4 separate regions of the Homo sapiens genome follow, and all the other regions are linked to region 1. Evidence: promoter capture Hi-C in human tissues and cell types (Jung and others, 2019). All regions are on one chromosome and are shown on one strand. Each heading gives the region's core, a stretch centred on a gene start or on the middle of the fragment in contact. The rest is flanking DNA. Distances are from core to core; before and after follow the strand shown. Region 1 holds the start of HERC6 (HECT and RLD domain containing E3 ubiquitin protein ligase family member 6). Region 2 overlaps HERC6 (HECT and RLD domain containing E3 ubiquitin protein ligase family member 6). Region 3 overlaps HERC6 (HECT and RLD domain containing E3 ubiquitin protein ligase family member 6). Region 4 overlaps PPM1K-DT (PPM1K divergent transcript).

Evidence for each region. The method cuts DNA at HindIII sites, captures the fragments that hold promoters and counts their contacts. A contact is called where the count stands out against the background at its distance.
Region 2: a fragment that was not itself captured here is called in contact with the fragment with the promoter of HERC6 in region 1 in 3 of the 25 tissues and cell types used here (heart left ventricle, ovary and stomach).
Region 3: a contact is called between a fragment that was not itself captured here and the fragment with the promoter of HERC6 in region 1, in 1 of the 25 tissues and cell types used here (bladder).
Region 4: a fragment that was not itself captured here is called in contact with the fragment with the promoter of HERC6 in region 1 in 4 of the 25 tissues and cell types used here (adrenal gland, heart left ventricle, mesendoderm cells and 1 more).

Annotation. Positions count from the first base shown.
Region 1 is chr4:88,377,152-88,380,640 of GRCh38, reverse strand. HERC6 (HECT and RLD domain containing E3 ubiquitin protein ligase family member 6) reads right to left here and starts at 1,789. Exons shown (of 23, transcript NM_017912.4): 1 at 1,521-1,789. The coding sequence starts at 1,719. RefSeq lists an enhancer at 1,037-1,366 and a silencer at 1,377-1,566. The HindIII fragment of the contact is 12,273 bases long and covers 1-3,489 here.
Region 2 is chr4:88,437,142-88,440,630 of GRCh38, reverse strand. HERC6 (HECT and RLD domain containing E3 ubiquitin protein ligase family member 6) reads right to left here. Exons shown (of 23, transcript NM_017912.4): 20 at 2,850-2,920; 21 at 574-757; 22 at 381-483. The region is part of intron 1 of LOC102723458 (a long non-coding RNA gene); the gene reads left to right. Among named protein-coding and RNA genes, the nearest start is that of HERC5, 18 kb to the left of the region's middle. The HindIII fragment of the contact is 9,680 bases long and covers 1-3,489 here.
Region 3 is chr4:88,412,429-88,415,917 of GRCh38, reverse strand. It overlaps HERC6 (HECT and RLD domain containing E3 ubiquitin protein ligase family member 6), which reads right to left. Exons shown (of 23, transcript NM_017912.4): 12 at 2,652-2,841. It overlaps LOC102723458 (a long non-coding RNA gene), which reads left to right. Exons shown (of 5, transcript XR_938976.3): 5 at 1-537. Among named protein-coding and RNA genes, the nearest start is that of HERC6, 35 kb to the right of the region's middle. The HindIII fragment of the contact is 6,889 bases long and covers 1-3,489 here.
Region 4 is chr4:88,341,355-88,344,843 of GRCh38, reverse strand. It overlaps PPM1K-DT (PPM1K divergent transcript), which reads right to left. Exons shown (of 5, transcript NR_134238.1): 5 at 3,187-3,489. Among named protein-coding and RNA genes, the nearest start is that of HERC6, 36 kb to the left of the region's middle. The HindIII fragment of the contact is 5,342 bases long and covers 1-3,489 here.

The DNA of each region.
Region 1 (3,489 bases), core at 540-3,039:
GGTTCAAGCGATTCCCCTGCCTCAGCCTCCCAAGTAGCTGGGACTACAGGCGCCCGCCACCACGCCCAGTTTATTTTTTGTATTTTAGTAGAGATGGGGTTTCATCATATTGGCCAGGGTGGTCTCGATTTCCTGACCTCGTGCTCCGCCCGCCTCGGCCTCCCAAAGTGCTGGGATCACAGGCGTAAGCCACCGCGTCCGGCCTATTATGTGTATATATATATATTTATATATTATATATATATATTTATATATTATATATATATATTTATATATTATATATATATTTATATTATATATATATTTATATATTATATATATATTTATATATTATATATATATTTATATATTATATATTTATATATTATATATATTTATATATTATATATTTATATATTATATATATTTATATATTATATATTTATATATTATATATATATTTATATTATATATATATTTATATATTATATATATATTTATATATTATATATATTTATATATTATATATATTTATATATTATATATATTTATATATTATATATATATTTATATATTATATATATTTATATATTATATATATTTATATATTATATATATATTTATATATTATATATATTTATATATTATATATATTTATATATTATATATATATTTATATATTATATATATTTATATATTATATATATTTATATATTATATATATATTTATATATTATATATATTTATATATTATATATATTTATATATTATATATATATTTATATATTATATATATTTATATGCTATATATATATTTATATATTATATATATTTATATGTTATATATATATTTATATATTATATATATTTATATGTTATATATATATTTATATATTATATATATTTATATGTTATATATTTATATATTTATATATTATATATATTTATATATTATATATTTATATATTATATATTTGTATATATTTATATATTATATATATTTATATATTTTATATATATATTTTTATATATATATATTTTTTAATGCCCCAGTGTATTTCTAAGGGAGATACAGGTGTCTGACCCACAAACCACGTTTGTAAGGTCAGGCTGCCTTCTCCAGGTAGAACCGCGCAGGCGAGGATTTATCTGCAAGGCAAGCCGGAGGGACCACATCTCTTTCCAGAGCAGCGCTGACCAGGTTAGTTTCGGCTCTCAGTTTCGCTTTGAACTTGAATTGGAAACCGAAACAAATCCGAGGGGCGTTGGGAAAACGAAACTGAGGAAGTTGCTCTTCGGTAGCACAGGGCACCATTTTCCTGGTTCCTGTGGCTCTTCGGGCCCCGAGGAATCCAAGGCTCCCAGCACCCCTCCCTGCCTGGCCCGCGGCGCCCAGCATCTGAGCCGCTCCCTGCACCTGGGCCCCCGCGCCCCTCACCCGGGTCCCAGCGCTCCGCACCCGGTTCCCTGCGCCCGGTACCCAAGCCCCCGCGCCCATGTACTGGGGTCCTCACACCCTGCACCTGGGGCCCCCCGCTCACCTGGCAGCTCCCCGCGCTGCGCGCCCCTGCGGCCCAGCTGACCCCTGCTGTTGTCTCCGCACGAGAGGACCCTGTGGTTGGTCAGCAGCAGCAGAGAGTGGCGCTCCCCGCTGGCCGCCTGCAGTAGCTCAGCCCCGGGGCTGCCCGCCGTCCTCCGGCGCTGCAGCTCCCTGGAGTCGGCGCCCCAACAGAAGTACATCCCGCTTCTGCGCCCTGTCGCCTGCTCCGGATTCCGTCGGTCCCGCTGCGACAGGCTCCCGAACGCTGGTGACTGGGTGCGCGATGATTTCCTGAATATCAAGAGACTCACCCTGTCTTCAACCCGCCCCAGGGGCGCAGCCCTGGCCCCATGTCAACTCTCGCTGCCTGAACTTCAAGTGCTGAAGAGCAGAGAGGGCGTCCCAGGGAATAAAACTGAGTTTACATCCTAAGCCATTTATGAGTCGTGAATGCCACTTTGGGCAAGTTACCTAATGATTCCGTGCTTCAGCTATCATATCTACGAAATATGGACTGCAATTCAGCAAATCTAATATGTCGGGATAATTTAATAGGCACATAAAGTGTTAGAATAATACCTAGAGTGGTTAATAAAGCATCTGAGTGCCCACCTCATTCCAGACCTTTTTTGGCATTGAAAATATGTTTGTTTTTTGTTTGTTTGTTTGTTTGTTTGTTTGAGATGGAGTGTCGCTCTGCTGCTCAGGCTGGAGTGCAGTGGCACCATCTCGGCTCACTGCAACCTCCACCTCACGGGTTCAAGCTGATTCTCTTGCCTCGGCCTCCCGAGTAGGTGGGATTACAGGCATGCGCCACGACGCCCGACTTAATTTTTGTATTTTTAGTAAAGATGGGGTTTCACCATGTTGGCCAGGCTGGTCTCGAACTCCTGACCTCAAGTGATCCACCCCTCAGCTTTCCAAAGTGCAGGGATTACAGGCGTGAGCCTCTGGGCCCCGCCTGAAAATACAATTAGTGAAAGACAAGATCCTCTTGATGCGTTTACATTCTCCTGAGGGAAAGAGAACATAAACAGATAAACACATAGTGTAATATCAAGGGGCAACGAAAAATACAACAGGAACCAGAGGGTGGAGGCGGAAGGCACTGGTATTTGAGATGATATTAGGGAAGATCTCTCTGATGAAGTGATATTTGTGCAGAGAGCTGAGGGGACATGGGAAATGAGGGAATGAGTCGTGATCACACCTGAGGGCAGAGGATGAAAAGAAGCAGTTGGAAGGTTTTGAATAGAGAAGAGCCATGATCTGACTTCAGTTTTTAAAGATTCATCTGGCTGCTGTGTGAAAAATAATAGGACAAAAATGGAAGCAGAAAGCCAGTTAGCAGAGACTACTTCAGAGTTCAGGTCAGGTGATATCCTAGAAGGGAAGAGAGGAGAAGTTATTAGATTCAAGACATGTTTTGAAAGTAAGAGTCCACAGATTTGATGATGGATTAGAAATTGGGGGGAAAGAAGAAAAGGGATTAGGGATTACTCCAGGGTTGGCTTTAGGGGTTACTCCAAGGTAAACTCTACTGGACTGGGAAACCCTGAGGAAGGTGCAGGTTTAAGCTATGTGTGTCTGGAATACAGATTGGTAATGATAACTGTAAGATGCTTGTTAATCAAGAAGGCAATAGGATAAACTGTTTTGGAGTTGTAGAGAGAAGCTTGGGTGTAGTCAGAAAATTGGGAGCCATCAGTGTAGAGGTGATGCTTAAAGCCAGATGGCTGAATGAGAACACCCAGGGGGTGAATGTGGTGACAGTATAGCAGAGGCTAGAGGACTGATCATAGGAGGAAAACCAGGAGGAGGAGTTATAGACAGAGCAAGTAACGAATAAAGGAAGGATCAACTCTGTCAATTTCTTGTGGAGCAAGGTAAGGATTGAGCACTGATTTTTATTTATTTATTTGTTTGTTTGTTTGAGATAGAGTTTCCGCTCTTGATGCCCAGGCTGGAGT
Region 2 (3,489 bases), core at 296-2,795, 60 kb before region 1:
GGGGTAGGGGCTGCCAGAGATTCGTGCCCTATGCGGATGGTACACCTGGTCCTAACTCGTTTTTCATGCCCTATGTAGATCAGACACCACCTCCTCACTAGCTCATCTATAAAAAACCCTGCATTTCACCACAGATCAGCAACTCATTTTTCTGGGACCCCTCTCTGTAGCAGAGAGCTATTCTCTTTTCGCCTATTAAGTTTCTGCTCTATACCTCACCCTTTGTGTGTGTCCATGTCCTTGATCTCCATGGCTGTGAGACAAAGAACCTTGGGTGTCACCCCAGACAATGAGGCCACTTCAATGGCTTCATTCTAAACAAGACTGTACCTTTTTAAAAGATACATAATTATGTGTCCATCTAGTACCACAGTACTTACAGAGGAATTTTTTCTTTTCATCCAAGGTTAGTTTGTGGAAAGCCTTCCAAAACAACTGTATAGTAGGATGTGATTTTTGGTATCCTTGCTCATACTTTGAATTCTTGAGAGAAAGAGGGAGAAAAATGATTTGAGTGGGGTGGAATATATAGAAGTTGTTCGGAAAAATTGGGGCACTTTAGGTATCACCTACCTGTTCAAACTGTTTCCAGTCATAATCAGTATTTCCAATGATTGCTGTCATTAGTTCTTCAGGGTAGAAATGTCTAAGTATCTCCTTCTCACAGACTCTATAAAATCCTCTCTGAAATTCCTCATAAACTGCTTTTACAGAGACGTTGAAAATGTAATCAATATACTTAGAAACATAGTCTCTCCTTGAGGGAAGCAAAAAAAAAAAAAAAAAAAGAAAGGAAGGAAAAGGCCAATGATTAAAAGATTTTATACTTTGTTCTTTTTACTATTTCTATTGAGAAGGAAAAGTAAATTACTTCTATATAGCACAAGAATGTTGTATTGTGACCAAAACCTGGTCAGCTAGAAGAAAGAAATTTAGAAAATATAATCAGAAGGTTTAAAACTATTTGGCTCACTTTCCTCACTGCAGTCAGGAGGATTTTTTTAAAACATGAATCTGAATATGTCATTCTCTTGCTTAAAGTCTTTCAAAGGCTTCCCATTGCCCTTGGGGTAAATTCCAAACCTCCTTAGCAGGGATCAACAGGCCTTCCCAAGCCTAGCTCCTCCCTCAATTATCTGACCTTGCCAGTCTCAGCAAGGGGCCTCTTCCCACTTCCATTTTCTTTCTTTCTTTCTTTCCTTTCCCTTCCCTTCCCTTTCCCTTTCCCTTCCCTTTTCTTTCTTTCTTCTTTCTTTCTCTTTCCTTTCTTTTTCTTTCTTTTTTTTAAGAGATGGGGTCTCCCTGTGTTGCCCAGGCTGGACTTGGACTCCTGGCCTCAAGCGAACCTCCCGCCACAGCCTCCTGAGTAGGTGAGACTGCAAGTATGCACCATGGTGCCCAGCTCCCACTTCCATTTTCACTTCTGGCCCCGTTCATAGGTCTTGTCTCTCTTTTGTAGTTAGGCCACAGAATGCAGCATTTCTTCTTTACCTGATAACTTCTACCATCCATTAGATTTCAATATAAGTAAGACTTTCTCAGGGTTGATCCTTTTGTTCCTTTGCTTGTCCCCTCTCACAACACATGTCACTTTGTGAAAATTATTCCTGCAAGGTCTGTCTTATACTACAGGATGTAATTTCTACTAAATGATTAATTTCCTGATGGCAGGGTTGCTACTGGAGGCATTTCCATCAGAGACATGATTGTCTCCCACACTTTGGGCAGCCTTTGTGGACTAGCCTATCTAAATCAACTCTTGTCTGCCTTCCCCTGTAACCATTGGTGTGCTGGTAAATATCTAACAACCAGCTCTCTGAAAAGGAGTGGGAGGGGAGGGGACACACATTTGCAGCATTGGCGAATTTCTGTGGTGTTAATATTCCCACTGTGGCTGATTTTCAGCTACTAATACTTTGATAATAAACTCTTAACATTTTTGAAAATTTAACAATCAGCTCTCACAAGCTGGTACTAGTGAGCTCCAGCATACCACCACCTGGAACTCCCTAGTTTCTTAATCAGTTTTAATTTTCTTCAGAGTGCTCATCCTTATCTGACATTATATTACATAATAATTCATTTGTGGCCAGGTGCGGTGGCTCACCCTTGTAATCCCAGTACTTTGGGAGGCTGAGGTGTGAGGACTGCCTGAGCTCAGGAATTCGAGACCAGCCTGGGCAGCATGGCAAGACTCCATCTCTATTAAAAATAATAATGATTCATTTGTGTATTGTCTTTCTGCCCCACTGGAATTTAAGCTCCAAATTTTGTCTGTCTTTTTGACTACTGTATCTCCAGCACCTAGAATAGAGTCTGGTACAGAATAGGGGCTCAAAAATATTTGCTAAATGAATAAATAGTAAAAAGAGCTACAAAGGAAATATTGAACCCTGAATTCTTTCTCCTTTTCTTTTATCTTAAAAGCTTCTTTTTTCTAAAAGATTAGGAGCTAAAACAATCACCTGAGAAGCTAAAATGCTTTTTTTTTTTTTTTTTTTTTTTGAGACACAGTCTCACTCTGTTGCCCAGGCTTGAGTGCAGTTGCGCAATCCCGGCTCACTGCAACCTCCACTTCCTGGGTTCAAGCAATCCTCAGCCTCCTTAGTAGCTGAGACTACAGGCATGTGCCACCACACCTGGCTAATTTTTGTAGTAGAGACGGGGTTTCGCCATGTTGGCCAGGTTGGCCTTGAACTCCTGACCTCAAGTGATCCACCCACCTCAGCCTCCCAAATTGCTGGGATTACAGGTGTGAACCATATTTAAAAATACATTTTAAAAGAATAGTGATACAACATTTTATGTACAGTATATTCAAAACAGATATTCTAGCTGTCAAAACTTACTTGTTGGTTTGGTCCACAGGTATGGAGATCCCATTTGGAATTAAGTCAACATCATTTTGGTCCCAGTGTATCTGTAACCAAAATGTATTCAGGTACCAAATATCAAAGTAAGTTTGAATAATCAACCACCCATAATATCTTTATTGCCAATACATTTTCCCCTATGTAACTGAAAATAACTTGGAGCTAAATAATTTTTTATGTAGTTCAGCCTTTTAAATACATGTGAAAGCAAAAAAGCCTACCCTAGTACATGTTGTACATTACTTTCATGCCTAAATTATCGTTTAGTTGTTAAATTATTTACACTAGTTGAATAATCACCATAGCTTCACTTTATTTGAGAGTATATAGACATGAGAAGAAGATAAGGGGAAAGTCTTGCGGTACAGAAATAAAATGTCTTTTAAAAAAGGGATCCCAGGGGCCAGGCACAATGGCTTATCCCTGTAATCCTAGCACTTTGGGAGGCTGAGACAGGTGGATCACTTGAGGCCAGGAGTTAGAGACCAGCCTGGCCAAGATAGCAAAAACCCATCTCTACAAAGAATACAAAAATTAGCCAGGCATGGTGTCGCATGCCCATAATCCCAGCTACTCAGGAGGCTGAGGTAGGAGAATCACTTGAACCCAGGAGGCG
Region 3 (3,489 bases), core at 450-2,949, 35 kb before region 1:
CCAGACCCCTTAAAAACCCCATCTGCAAACCTCTTGAAGAGGCATATTTGAGGTTTCCTCTCATCTCCTCATTTGGTTTCCCTACAATTATTAAATTCTTTCTCTGCTGCAACTCCTACTTTTTCAGTGTATTGGTCTGTTACTGTGCAACAGGAAATCAGACCTGGTGGTCCTATAGTAAGAGTTCACAGAATATGATATACAAAGTGATCTGTGATATACAAAAACCGGCACAATCTCACTCTTAATAAGAAAAATTCAACTTAAAATTAAAAGTTTTTTTTCCTCAGAATGGCAAAGATCAAAGTTTGATAACATGGTTGGAAAGTATGCAGACCGATATTCTCATATTCATTGATGAAGTGTAAATTGATACATCCTTTGTCAGTACGGACAGGTTTCCCAACTCTAGGGGTGAAATTTATACAGACTACAGTGTGAATGACAACCACTTCAAATTGGGTGATATGATGACCTTGACTCTGTGGAGGGTCATTTGGCAAAATATCTCAAAATAAAAATGTACATACAATTTGACTCAGTGATTTTGCTTTCTGGAATGTTTCCTGCATGTGTGAATTTATATATGTACAATGAAATGCTTCACAATAGAACATTCTTCAGCCATTAAATAGAATGAGGCAGTTCTATAGATTCTCTATTGGAATGATCTCCATGATATCCTGTTTAGTGGGAGAAAGCAAGTTGTGGAAGAGGAACTTTAATAGTTTGCTACCATTAAAAACAGAAATAATACATTTGTATGTTTCTATATATAGAATATCTTTCAAACGTTACACAAGAAACTAGAACCTGTAGCCACTTCTGGGAGGGGAACTGGGTGGCTTACATTTCATTGTACATATCCTCTGTACCTTTTTGTTTTTCTTTGAGATAGGGTATTGCTCTGTCACCCAGGCTGGAGTGCAGTGGTATGCTGATAGCTTACTGCTGCTGTCAGAGGCATTTGAACCAGAGCAACTCCATCTTGAATAGGAGCTGGGTAAAATAAGGCTGAGACCTACTGGGCTACCATCCCAGACAGTTAGGCGTTCTAGATGACAGAATGAGATCGGAGGTCAGCACAAGATACAGGTCATAAAGACCTTGATGATAAAACAGCTTGCAGTAAAGAAGCCGGCTAGAATCCACCAAAACCAAGATGGCAATGAGAGTGACCTCTGGTCGTCCTCACTGCTGTACTTTCACCAGCACCGTGACAGTTTACAAATGCCATGGCAATGCCAGGAAGTTACCCTATATGATCTAAAAAGGGGAGGTATGAATAACCCACCCCTTCTTCAGCACATAATCAAGAAATAACCATAAAAATGGGCAACCAGCAGCCCCAAGGAGCTGCTCTGCCTGTGGAGTAGCCATTTTTTATTCTTCTACTTTCTTAGTAAACTTACTTTCACTTTATAGACGCTCCCTGAATTATTTCTTGTGTGAGATCTAAGAACCCTTGTTTGGGATCTGGATTGGGACCCCTTTCCAGTAATACAGACTTAAACTCCTGGGCTCAAGTGATCCTCCTGCCTCAGCTTCCAAGTAGCTGGGACCACAGGTGTGTGCCACCATGCATGGCTGATTTAAAAAAAAAAAAATTGGTAGAGTCGGGGTCTCACTATGTTGCCCAGGCTGCCCTCAACCTCCTGGGCTCAAAAGATTCTCTCACCTTAGTCTCCCAAAATGCTAGGATTAAGGTGTAAGCCACAATGCCTGGCCCTCTGTACCTCTTAAGTGAAGGAGTCCAGGGAAATTTGCCCCAAAATATGGCACCCTGGTATGCTGATTATTTTAAGTTAAAGGCCCTTGAAGGTCAGCAGATGCTGGAAAAGGCTTTTCTCTGACACTCCCTTATCTACCTTAAGACTGGACCCACTACAGAGAACAGAATTGCCTTTCATGCCATCTCTGAAATTACATTATCTGTCACAGACAAGACGACTGAGGAATGTAACCACACCTAGATGTATTTTTTCAAAAGATAATGCCTGCCTCTCAGGCTCATTCCAATTCCAAGGAGAATCATTTACAAGTTAATTTCTGTTTCCTGGGTCACTCATTCTCCCTAATAGTCATTTACTACTCCTCAAAAGAATTGTCTACATTCCCTACCTCCCCTCTCCTCTATGTAGAAGGGTATATAAACATCTGGACCCCATTGGGTTATTGGGTAATCACTGAACTTTCAATATACGCTAAAAGCTATAAAAGGACATAATACAGTACTGAATAAAGTAAATAATAATAATACAAAGTTTAACATTTGTTTTTCATCATCTGGTCAAAATGTCAAAAGTTTCAAAATAACATGAGCAAAAAATTTTAAAGTATGGATTGATCTTGATTGAATACTTTATAGCTACCAAACTCTGATGTCAAAGCCACATCCAAGTCTAAAATGAATACCTTATAGCTACCAAACTCTGATGTCAAAGCCACATCCAAGTCTAAAAACTACACCTGCTTTGTATGATAGAACTAATAATTATAATAGCTTTAGATTATTAATCTTTTCAATAATTTACATGCCATGTTCTCAAATACTTGTCTATTTTGAAATCTTCTATTCAAAATTTGCTACAACGTCTACTTCAGAGAGTGACTCTATATTGAGAGTACAGATAAAGTGACATAAAACTTACTTAGGACTTGCAAAGATTGTTTACTCATTTCACACACAGCCTTTGCAAATGGAACCACCAGGTTCTTCCAGTTCTTAGAATCATGCATCACAGGACATTCTGGGAGCAGGAGGAAAACTGATAAAGCTTCTTGGTGTGGAGAATGGCATGGAAGAGCTCTGAGCAGATCATCCTCGAGACACGTAGTTATCTGTGGTAAAAATAGGATCAGGGAACAGACCCAGGATATATTAGATACAGAGGATTGTGAGAAGCAAGCTGTGAAATTAAGGGTTTCACTCCACCATGTTCCAATTAGAATAATCACTTAGCCATTCTGAAACCTATTGATGAGACTCCATCACTCCTTCCATCCCAAATACCCCTGATATAGTACATGAGAGCCATCCTCCTCATTTTATATCAGGTTCCCTGAAGAAAATAAAGTGAAATCCCATGAGCATGGATATACTGAGTGAATTATGGATTCAAAACGAATACAAAGCCCTTCAAAAGCAATGTTGTATGCAGGTCACATTAGTATTCCTCCTTCTAGAAGGAAGAGCTGTCCCCTTCCCCTCACACAATATCCATTTCTTTCTTTCTGTTTTCTCATGTATCAGTAGAAAAATTTGCAGAGAAAAATAGCTCTAAATTTTTATATTATTTATTTCATCCAGAGGTAAAGTTTTACTTCAGCGTGTAGTGGCTCAATTACAGCTGGAGTGCAGTGGCTCAATCATAGCTCACTGCAGCCTCAAGCTCCTTGGTTGAGGCAATCCTCCCACCTCAAGACTCCTAAGTGGAGTGCACTGCCACAGCCAGCCCATTTTAGAAAATTATTTGTAGAGATGGAGTC
Region 4 (3,489 bases), core at 270-2,769, 36 kb after region 1:
AAACTCTTCTCAAGGCCGCTTTACTTCCAAAAGAAGCTGGAGTCATTCACTGCAAGGGCCATCAAAAGGTGTCAGATCCCATCACTCAGGGCAATGCTTATGCTGATAAGGTAGCTAAAGAATCAGCTAGTGTCCCAACTTCTGTCCCTCGTGGCCAGTTTTTCTCCTTCTCATCAGTCACTCCCACCTACTCTCCTACTGAAACTTCCACCTATCAATCTCTTCCCACACAAAGCAAATGGTTCTTGGACCAAGGAAAATATCTCCTTCCAGCCTCACAGGCCTGTTTTATTCTGTCGTCATTTCATAACCTCTTCCATGTAAGTTACAAGCCACTAGCCTGCCTCTTAAAACCTCTCATTTCCTTTCCATCGTAAAAATCCATCCTCAAAAAATCACTTCTCAATGTTCCATCTACTATTCTACTACTCCTCAGGAATTTCTCAGGCCCCCTCTCTTCCCTACACATCAAGCTCAAGAATTTGCCCCTGCCCAGGACTGGCAAATTGATTTTACTCACATGCCCCGAGTCAGGAAACTAAAATACCTCTTGGTCTGGGTAGACACTTTCACTGGATAGGTAGAGGCCTTTCCCACAGAGTCTGAGAAGGCCACCATGGTCATTTCTTCCCTTCTGTCAGACATAATTCCTCGGTTTGGCCTTCCCACCTCTAAACAGTCAACCAGAAAGATCTCCTCACTGTCCTCTAAACAAACCAGGTTCATGGTTTTGTACCTGCTTCTGGTCTTGTCACTCTTCTCTTTAGAAACTCTCCTCCCCTTCTCTCCACAGATCCAAATTCCAGTGACCCCACAAGGTCATTCCCCTTTTCTGACTCCACCTGCCTATAGTGGCCTCCTCTTCTTTGCTGAACTCCTACTGCACTTGTCAGTAACATTCCACTGAGTTCTCAATGCTAGTGTGTCATTGTTTCTCTGTGCTTTCTATGTGTACATATTATGTTCTGTATGAGATTTCTTAGCCTCTGTAAATCCTTAGAATACCTAGCAGAGCTGAGCGCAGGGTGGAAGGTTGACACCCATGAACTATTTTTTATCTCGTAATATCACACATGGCAGCCATAATGCATTGCACCCCTTGCGGGATGAGGTGTGACAGCAAAACTGGCATAAATTTCTTCTTCCTTTTTCACAATTTCACAGCTACAAGATTCATTTTTACTATAGATCATGGTAACATCAGCACATAATTTTTTTTCTTATTAAGTAAAAAACTTACCTTTTCAATTAAAGGAAACACTTTCCAGCTGCTCTTTGGCATCTCTGAATTGCAAGCATCACTACTCTTGCACTTTGGGGCCATTCTTAAGTAAAAGAAGGGTTCCCTTAACACAAACACTGAGATACTGTGACTGTCCAACTGTTAAATAACAGGGCTGCCAAGTGACTCACAGGCAGGTACCACCACCTTAAACAGCGTGGATACACGGGACAAAGAAATCATTCATGTACCCAATGGGACAGAGCCAGACAGCATAAGATTTCGCCATGCTACTCAGAATGGAGTACAATTTAAAACTTATGAATTGTTATTTCTGGGTAATTTACTTAATATTTTTTGGAACATGGTCAACTGCAAGTAACTGAAACCTCAGAAAGCAAAACCATAGTGTCATGCGCATCTGTGTGAAGAGACCACCGAACAGGCTTTGTTTGAGCAATAAAGCTTTTTAATCACCTGGGTGCAGGCGGGCTGACTCCGGAAAGATAGTCAGCAAGGAAGATAGGGGTGGGGCAGTTTTATAGGATTTGGGTGGTTAGTGGAAAGTTACAGTCAAAGGGGGTTGTTGTCTTGTGGGCAGGGGTGGGGGTCACAAGGTGCTCAGTGGGGGAGCTTCTGAGCCAGGAGAAGGAATTTCACAAGGTTAATTGATCAGTTAAGGTGGGGCAGGATCAAATCACAATGGTGCAATGTCATCAGTTAAGGCATGAACCAGCCATTTTCACTTCTTTTGTGATGTTTCACTTGCTTCAGGCCATCTGGATGTATATGTGCAGGTCACAGGGGATATGATGGCTTAGCTTGGACTCAGAGGCCTGACATTCCTGTCTTCTTATATTAATAAGAAAAATAACATAAAATAGTGCTGAAGTGTTGAGACAACGAAAATTTTTAGGGGTGGTATGGAGAGATAATGGGCGATGTCTCTCAGGGCTGCTTCCAGCGGGATTAGGGTTGGCGTGGGAACCTAGAGTGGGAGAGATTAAGCTGAAGGAAGATTTTATGGTAAGGGGTGATATTGTGGGGTTGTTAGGAGGAGCATTTGTCATATAGAATGATTGGTGATGGCCTGGATATGGTTTTGTATGAATTTAGAAACTAAACGGAAGACACAAGGTCTGAATAAGAGAAGGAGAAAAATAGGTATTAAAGGACTAAGAATTGGGAGGACTCAGGACATCAAATTAGAGAGTGCCCAAGCAAGTAATTACTTGCTTGGTTGGCGAGTTTTTGGGCTCTATCCTTGAGTTTTTTTATGTTGTCATACACCAGGCCAGATTTATTTAGGTAAAAACAACACTGCTCATTTAAAAATATACAGAGTCCTCCTTTTTCAGCAGTAAGTCAAGGCCTTGGCAGTTTTGGAGGAAAGAGAAATGCAAAGCCAGCAATTGTTTGTTAAAGAAGGATTAGAAATGGCTAGGAGAGAGTGAGATTGATAGTGTGGTAGAGATAGCTGGGGAGAGGTAGAGGGTGGCATAAGAACGGGAACAAGAATAAGAGTAAGTATAAAACTAAAGAATAGGACTTCATCAGGGTGAAAGTATTGGAGTGTACTTTGCCACTGAAGTGAAAGGGGAGGTGCTAGGTTCTTTTTAACAACCAGCTTTCACAGGAACTAATAAAGTGAGAACTCGTACCCCGCACCCACCCTCCCAGACAGAGCATTAATCTATTTATGAGGGATCTGCTCCCATGACCCAAACACCTCCCATTAGGCCCCACTTCCAACACTGGGGATCAGATTCCATCACAAGATTTGAAGGGGACAAACATCCAAACTATAGCAGTGAGCAAATAAGCTTCTCCCTTAAACGAAAAACACACGGTACGTAATGCTAAAACCTCCCAGCTGTACCTTCTGACCTGTTGACTGGGCTTCCCATACACTCATTTTTCCTGCCCCTTGGGATTTTTAACTTCCAGTAAGACTCTTAAGTTAATTGCTTTTTCAAGGGCAACTTTAATCAGAATAGCCAGCTCTACAGACACATTACAGAAAAAGGAAAACCAGTTTTTTGTGTGTGTGTTAGGCTATTAAAAAAATAGTGGTGGGTTTTTTTTCCCCATTGGCTTTTTTCTCTCCATTATCATGCACGCCTTTCTGTTCAGGATTGAGGTCATCCATCTGCAATCTCATATCCTCTTGCTGGGTTCTGTCAAGTATTAGTCATAAGGCAGTCAGCTTGCTTGTGTACACTTCAACAGCTCTTTTTCACATCAAGCCTTCCAGTTGTCTCTGCTTA